2 separate regions of the Homo sapiens genome follow, and region 2 is linked to region 1. The links are contacts of gene promoters, found by promoter capture Hi-C in blood cells and fetal thymus (Javierre and others, 2016). All regions are on one chromosome and are shown on one strand. Each heading gives the region's core, a stretch centred on a gene start or on the middle of the fragment in contact. The rest is flanking DNA. Distances are from core to core; before and after follow the strand shown.

Region 1 (3,059 bases), core at 208-2,707:
TGTGTAGCTACTAGGATTACAAGTGTGAGCCACCTTGCCTGGCTTAAAAGTCCATTCTTGTGCTTGTGTGAGTGTGTATAAAGAACTGGATGGATGACACTGCACATGTTAACAGTGATTATTCGTGAGTAGTGGTATTATGAGTCATTTTAATTTTCTTTTTTTGCTTTTTAAAAGTAAATATTCTACAATGAAAAAACTACTAAATTTCTTAATAGTTCTTCATGGCCTAGCCTCAATTTGCCTTCTTCCTAGTTTCACTCCCAAATATATTCTGTGCTGCAACCTCTTTCCCAGGCATTTCATAACTCCATTTCGTGTGAAGAGGTCTCCACAACAAGAAGTGTCATTCTTTTCTGTCATTCAAAATAGTTCTTCCTCTCAGAACTGAACAAGTGAATGGGCTCAAATGTTATCTGAAATCTGTCACAATTCTCTCCTCTCTCCTCTTCATCCCGACAAGCTTCCATCCTAAGTGTTCCCACATTTCAATGAAGTGGGGAAACATCAGACCTAGAGTGAAAACACACACTGCAGACTGACTTATGCACTTTACTGGCCATGAGGGAGCAGTATGTGGCATATAGGAGGTACTTAATAAAGCGAGTTGAATAAACAAATGTGCTTGGGCAGATTCCTTAATCTCAAGTACTGACTTTTTGCCCTGGACATCAAAGATGGTAACTCACAGGTTCACTGTGAGGCTTGCAGAGTTTTGGTTTAAACTAAGAAAAGCTATGCAAATGACAGCAACCATTTGAAGACGGGTACACTTTGGATACCGAAAAATGCTCTAGTACACTATACTCGTTTGAGCTTACAGCAATCTTCTAAGCAGTTATCATCTTTATTTTACAAATGAGGAATCCGAGGCTCAGAGAGGCTAAATAACTTGACAGAAATCACAGAGCTGGTAGAACTGGGATCAAGATTCGAAGTCGGATCTCTCTGCTATAATGTGCTCTCATTCGCCAGGCTAACGACACGTGATATTCACAGGGCACTGTCCAATCTGCCTCTATTATAGGTATTCGCCTGACCACCTTCACCTCTCCACTTAACTGTCAACTCCACGTGGGCGGGGCGTTTTGCACCTCCTGAGCTCGCAATGAAGGTCTGTGAGCAACGGCCTCGCCTCTACAACACCCGACGGACCCTCTGTGCCTCCTCCCCAGCCCCCCGGGCCCACCTTGTGGTGCACAGCTGCGTCTCCCCCATGAGGTAGCGGGGCAGCTGCTCCCGCAGCTGGATGCGGCCCCGCAGCGCCGCCTGACAGAAGGTGCCGTCCAGCAGGATCTGGTACGGCTCGCGGACTCCGAAGTTGTTGCGGAAGAAGCCAAGATGCTTCTTGGCATGTTTCTGCCTTGTGATCTTCATGCCTGGCTTACCGGGACCGAGGCCACCGGACCAGGAAGCATCAGTAAACGCCTCACGCACGCCCCAGTACCCTCAATGCCAGTTTCACCCGGAAATGAAGCGCCTTTGGCCACGGAAGCAAACGCCTCTGTCTTCCGGGCCTGCCCATTGGTTTACGTCATGTCCAGACCAGCGCGCGCTTCCACCGCAGTGCCCGCGCTTAAAGGGGCGGTCCCTTAGGGCGGAACTTGTGCGTACGCTGGAAAACCGCTGGGGTGCGCGATTCCGCACGGGGGCGCACATGCGCAGTCTGGGGCCACGGTAAAAGAAAATTACGAGAATACATTTAGCGTGTTACCTACGTTTTAGAGGCGCGTAGCAAGAGCTTCTCTGAAAGACTGGCAGTATAGTAGTAGTCAGTGATAATATTGAGCCTTAATATGTTCCAGACACTGTCCTAAGTGATTTACCTTACATTATTCCCCTGAATGTTTATAATTCCCAAGTGAAAGAAGGAAATGATATATTGGATAGCTATGAGTGGGGAGGTTTGTACTGGCTGCTTTCCCATAAAGAAATTAAGCACGTTCACGAAGGGCACGTAGTTTGTTAGTGTCTGGAACCCAGTTTTCGTGCCTGAAGTTCAAATGTTCTTGCTACACCACCATAGAAACTAACGTCACTCAGGAACCATTTGTCAGGGCAAAGGGTGCCACCATTTTGCATTTCCTCCTGCCTTAGGACCATCCTAAATCACTCGCATGGAGTGTTTTGGAAGAACTCTCAAGAGCTTCGTTTGCCTAGAGTCAGAATTCCTAACCTTGAGTCCTGGTTTTGCCACAAACCCAAGCCGTTTGATCTTGGGCAACTCCCGAAGAAAGCTGGGTTCAACTTCCTCACTGTCAAACTGGTTGTAGGTCTAGATAAGTTTCAAGTACTCTTTTTATGTGCATGGTCTCTGACATAGGAAGACTACATACTGGGCCAGTAACAGGAAGGCACAAAGCTGACTGGAGGTTTAAAAATTACTTGGTCAATTTGATTAATGAGGAGAATGAATCAGAAAATTTCAAGTTCTCCCGTGGCTAACTGTCGAGTATCCACTTCAAGGTAAAATAATCAAAGAATGGGGAGTATGGAATTTTGCATTTTTGTCCTTGCCTGGAATCTGTCCCAGATCTAGTTTTGGCTAAAGATTGAAAGAACCAGCACAGAAAATGATTTACAACGTGATTGAATGCATTGTTTGCATTTGGGGTTTTATTTCAATATGTAGGTTTATGAAATTGGAATAAGATCTATAATGTTAGCCCTGATCTGAGTCCCAGCACATCACTTAGATGGTTGCTTTCATTTAAACTTAAAATGAATTTAGGAATTGGAAGCCATGAAAACTTTTGCAGGGTTGGATTCAAGGTCTTTGAGTGTAATTGCTCAGTACTTTTCAATTTGAATCCTCTTTTTATCCCTGTATGCCAACTCTCTACTCCAACTATGCGCCCACCACAGACAGAGAAACGAGATACCACCTGAGTCTTGCAAAACAGTTAAAACATTTTTTCTTAAATAGCCTCAGATTTATCTACCAGCTCCTTGGCCACTTTTCAGTACTAAGAAAAATGTGGTGCAGCACTAGGGATTTTAGTCTTATCTTAGTTTTTGTTGTCGTTTTTTAATTTACCAAGCTACAGCACATTTTTTCC
Region 2 (3,252 bases), core at 752-3,251, 8.3 Mb after region 1:
ATTTTATTGTTTGGGTTTTTTTTTTCAATTTTGGTGGGGGATGAGGAAAGGGAAGGGGGTAGTAGAGTGGTCAAGTAAGGCTTTTTTGTAGTAGGTGAGCTTTGTGGGGAATTGATAAATGATAAAGTTTAATGGGGGCAAGAGTGAGGCAAGGAGGGAAGAACACTCCCAGTGGAAGGACTAGCATGTGCCAGCTTTAAGAAGCAGCATGGCAATTTAGGGTATTCAACAAAGGCCAGCATAGGCAGCTCACAAAGTGAGAGGGAGAAGGGCTCAAGATAAAGCTGGAGACATGGGCAACCGCCAGATCATACAGAGGAAGGACATAATCATATTAGCACTAGCTAATAGTAACACATCCTTTTATATAGTACTTAACAGTTTACAAAGCACTTTAAAATGTTTTCTTTGTTCCTACAAATTTGTGTAGTAGTTATTATTTATTATTCCAAATTAATTACATCAATCCTCTTTAGAATGACCACAGGGTAAGGTCCAATTACTCAGTTAAATCACCTTGTCTGTTGGTAGTATACAGCTACTCGTCCCTCAGGATTTTATATATGCTACTATCATCTAGGAAACCTATAATGAACATACCTTCATAATAGCATTTTCTAAAAATTATGTAATATTTAAAACATTTTTTAAAAAGCATTAAAAATAACATCCATTTATCTACGACTCAGCTTACGGAAGATACCCTGACACAAGCCTTTTAAAACTGTGTGTTTACAGGTTTGTTTTCTCCATTAGATTGTGACTTCCTTGGAAGTGGGGACTGTGTGTTGACAGAGCCAAGATTTTGCAGTAAGAAATCAACACTGTTGTTTAATATAATGGAATCCCTCAATTCAGGTATAAATACTGAGATTCACAACGTGCTAGAGGCCATAAAGTCAATAAATCATTTAATTCAGTTCAAGTACAAAGAAATTTTGCTTTATTTGTAACGGATTTACAACTTTATAATAACTGATATATTTATTCACGATAAAACAGAAAATACAACTTTCGGTCCACATGTTTTCAGGTCATTATTAAAACATCCCAAGAAGGCATTCGTTAAGCAAATTAGCTACTGAAGTCTCCTGTATTATGTTAAATGCTGGGAATATGAATTCCAATTACACAAATTCCACGCCTTAATGAAACTCAAGTTTCTTAAGCACACAGAATTGATCCAAGGTTTGGCTGTTCCCAGATTTAAAGAACATATCCCACTCTAGATCAACTAAGGATAGGGAAAAGTGACCATCACACGTAAGCACTTACGTAGCCCAGAGTTAATTAGTTATTTTTCCCTTCAGAAAAGAAACTACTAGTAGGGAGTAAGAAAGAAGTTGTGTTGTGTGTGTAAATGTGTTTTGAGAAGGAGTGGGACAGAGACTAGACTAAAAGGAAAAGAAACTGGAAACCCGGGTTTAAGAAGAAAACTAAATGTAGAGTGGCATATGAGAATCACATTTGTTCACGCATCTTTTACACAGCTTTTCTGCACAGAGCTGTAATCCTTACACACCACTTAGTAAAGGGCCTTACAGGCCCTGTGTTTCTTGGCTCCAAAGAAGCTTCAGTAACCACCTATTCCGCCTCTTCCGCACCGCCCAGCAACCAGTTAGCGTGCGACAACCCCAGCCCCAAGTCCCTCCCGCCCGCCTCATAAATAAAAGCGGCCCCGGGACGCTGGACTGGCGCGGAGGAGGGCAGGTCAACCGAGGAGCAGACACCGTGGGAAACGCTGCAGAGTACGCGTCCGGGCCAAGGGAAGGGTCAGCCTCAGCCTCCACCTCAGCTTGGCCCGTACAGTGAGGGCTCTGGTACCAAAAAGACACCAGAGAACCCAGCTCCCCGAAAGCAGCGGGTACTCCCGAACGGCTTCCCAGCGCTTTTAGTCTTTCCGCACCCGCCCCCACCCGAAGTTACCTTCCCAAGTGACATCGTAAAGCTCTGAGACCTTCGCCATCTTCCCAGAACCTAGAGGCAGCGGGGTGAGAGGGCGGGGAGACGCAGTCACGTGACCCGCCACCGGGCGGTGGAGAGTTACGTAGCTTTTTCTCATTGGCCAAGAGAGCAGAGGGGGCGGTATCCGCCACGCACGTGCACGCGGCTCTGCGGAGGGGCTTTCGGGGAAGGGGGCGGAGCGAGCTGGGCGGAGCGAGCTGGACGGTGGACGGAGCTAGGTGGGCGGTGCGTGGCGCTCCCGCAATCTCAGGATACCCTGGCTGCTGGCGGGGCTACGGTGCTGGCTCGGGGTGAGGTGTGTGTGTGTGTTGACGTGGATTTTTAACAAATGCTGGGTTTTTAGTGTCCGTCAATCCTGGCTTTTCAGTTTTTTCTACCTAGGCTTGTTCATTCTCTTCACACTCCCTTAAGTACCCTTATTCTCTTCATGGCCGGCCGCAGTGCAGCCTTCTGCACGAATCCCTTATTTGTCCCCAACTTTCCTCCTTCCGTAATGGGATTTGCTTTCCGTTCACTTTTTAATCGACTAAACGGATAAACTCCAAAGTTTTGAGAGACTAAGTGGGATTCTTCCTTTGCGCTCTGAAGTTCCCTTGAATGCCCTCGCGCTAGCTTATACCCTTCATTAACGCTCGTCGTGCCTGTCATTGCTTCATCCATGTCTGCATGCCACACTAGGTTTCAAACTGTCGCGAGTATGTAAGTACTTATAAGGAATGAATGTACGAATGAGACCTTCACAGTTCCTGAACTTCGCTCCTCATTACTCCTGGGTGGATGGGGGAGCCTCCTTTCCCACCAGACTAATTGCTTTTAGGAAACTTTGGACGTCATCTCCTAGACTTAAGGAGAAATGTCTGGACAGGAAGTAAAAAATTTGAGGATGATAAGCGTATATTTAGTATTTGAAGCAATGGGGACATGAGATTGTAGAGGAAATATGTAAGCTGAGAAAAAACTAAAAATCACTGCAATGCAGCCGAAAGTTATTGGTCAGTAAAGAAGGGGCAGTTGATTTGAGAAGTAGAAATAATACTATCCCACAAGTCAAAAGAGTGGAGGGTTTTTTTTCTCAGCTTTATTGAGGTGTAATGGACAAAAATTGTGTATATTTAAGGTATACAAAGTAATGATTAGATGTAAATATACACTGTGAAATGATTACCACAAGCAAGCTAATTAACACATCTATCACCGTACATATTTCCTGTGTGTGTGTGTGTGTGTGTGTGTTGAGAACACTTAAAAATCTCTCAGCAAACTTCAAAGTATACAATACAGAATTAT

What was found. Contacts are between HindIII fragments. The CHiCAGO score rates a contact against its expected background, and 5 or more counts as called.
Region 2: the fragment with the promoter of EMC2 here is called in contact with the fragment with the promoter of UTP23 in region 1 in 1 of 17 cell types (naive CD8 T cells); the score reaches 8.7 in naive CD8 T cells.

Annotation. Positions count from the first base shown.
Region 1 is chr8:116,764,922-116,767,980 of GRCh38, reverse strand. It overlaps UTP23 (UTP23 small subunit processome component), which reads right to left and starts at 1,457. Exons shown (of 3, transcript NM_032334.3): 1 at 1,190-1,457. The coding sequence starts at 1,377. It also overlaps a transcript of EIF3H not described here. RefSeq lists enhancers at 1,071-1,380, 1,391-1,540. The HindIII fragment of the contact is 9,967 bases long and covers 466-3,059 here.
Region 2 is chr8:108,442,373-108,445,624 of GRCh38, reverse strand. EMC2 (ER membrane protein complex subunit 2) reads right to left here and starts at 2,001. Exons shown (of 11, transcript NM_014673.5): 1 at 1,927-2,001. The coding sequence starts at 1,966. LOC105375704 (a long non-coding RNA gene) reads left to right here and starts at 2,153. Exons shown (of 3, transcript XR_928530.4): 1 at 2,153-2,255. RefSeq lists a silencer at 2,048-2,167. The HindIII fragment of the contact is 5,303 bases long and covers 1,574-3,252 here.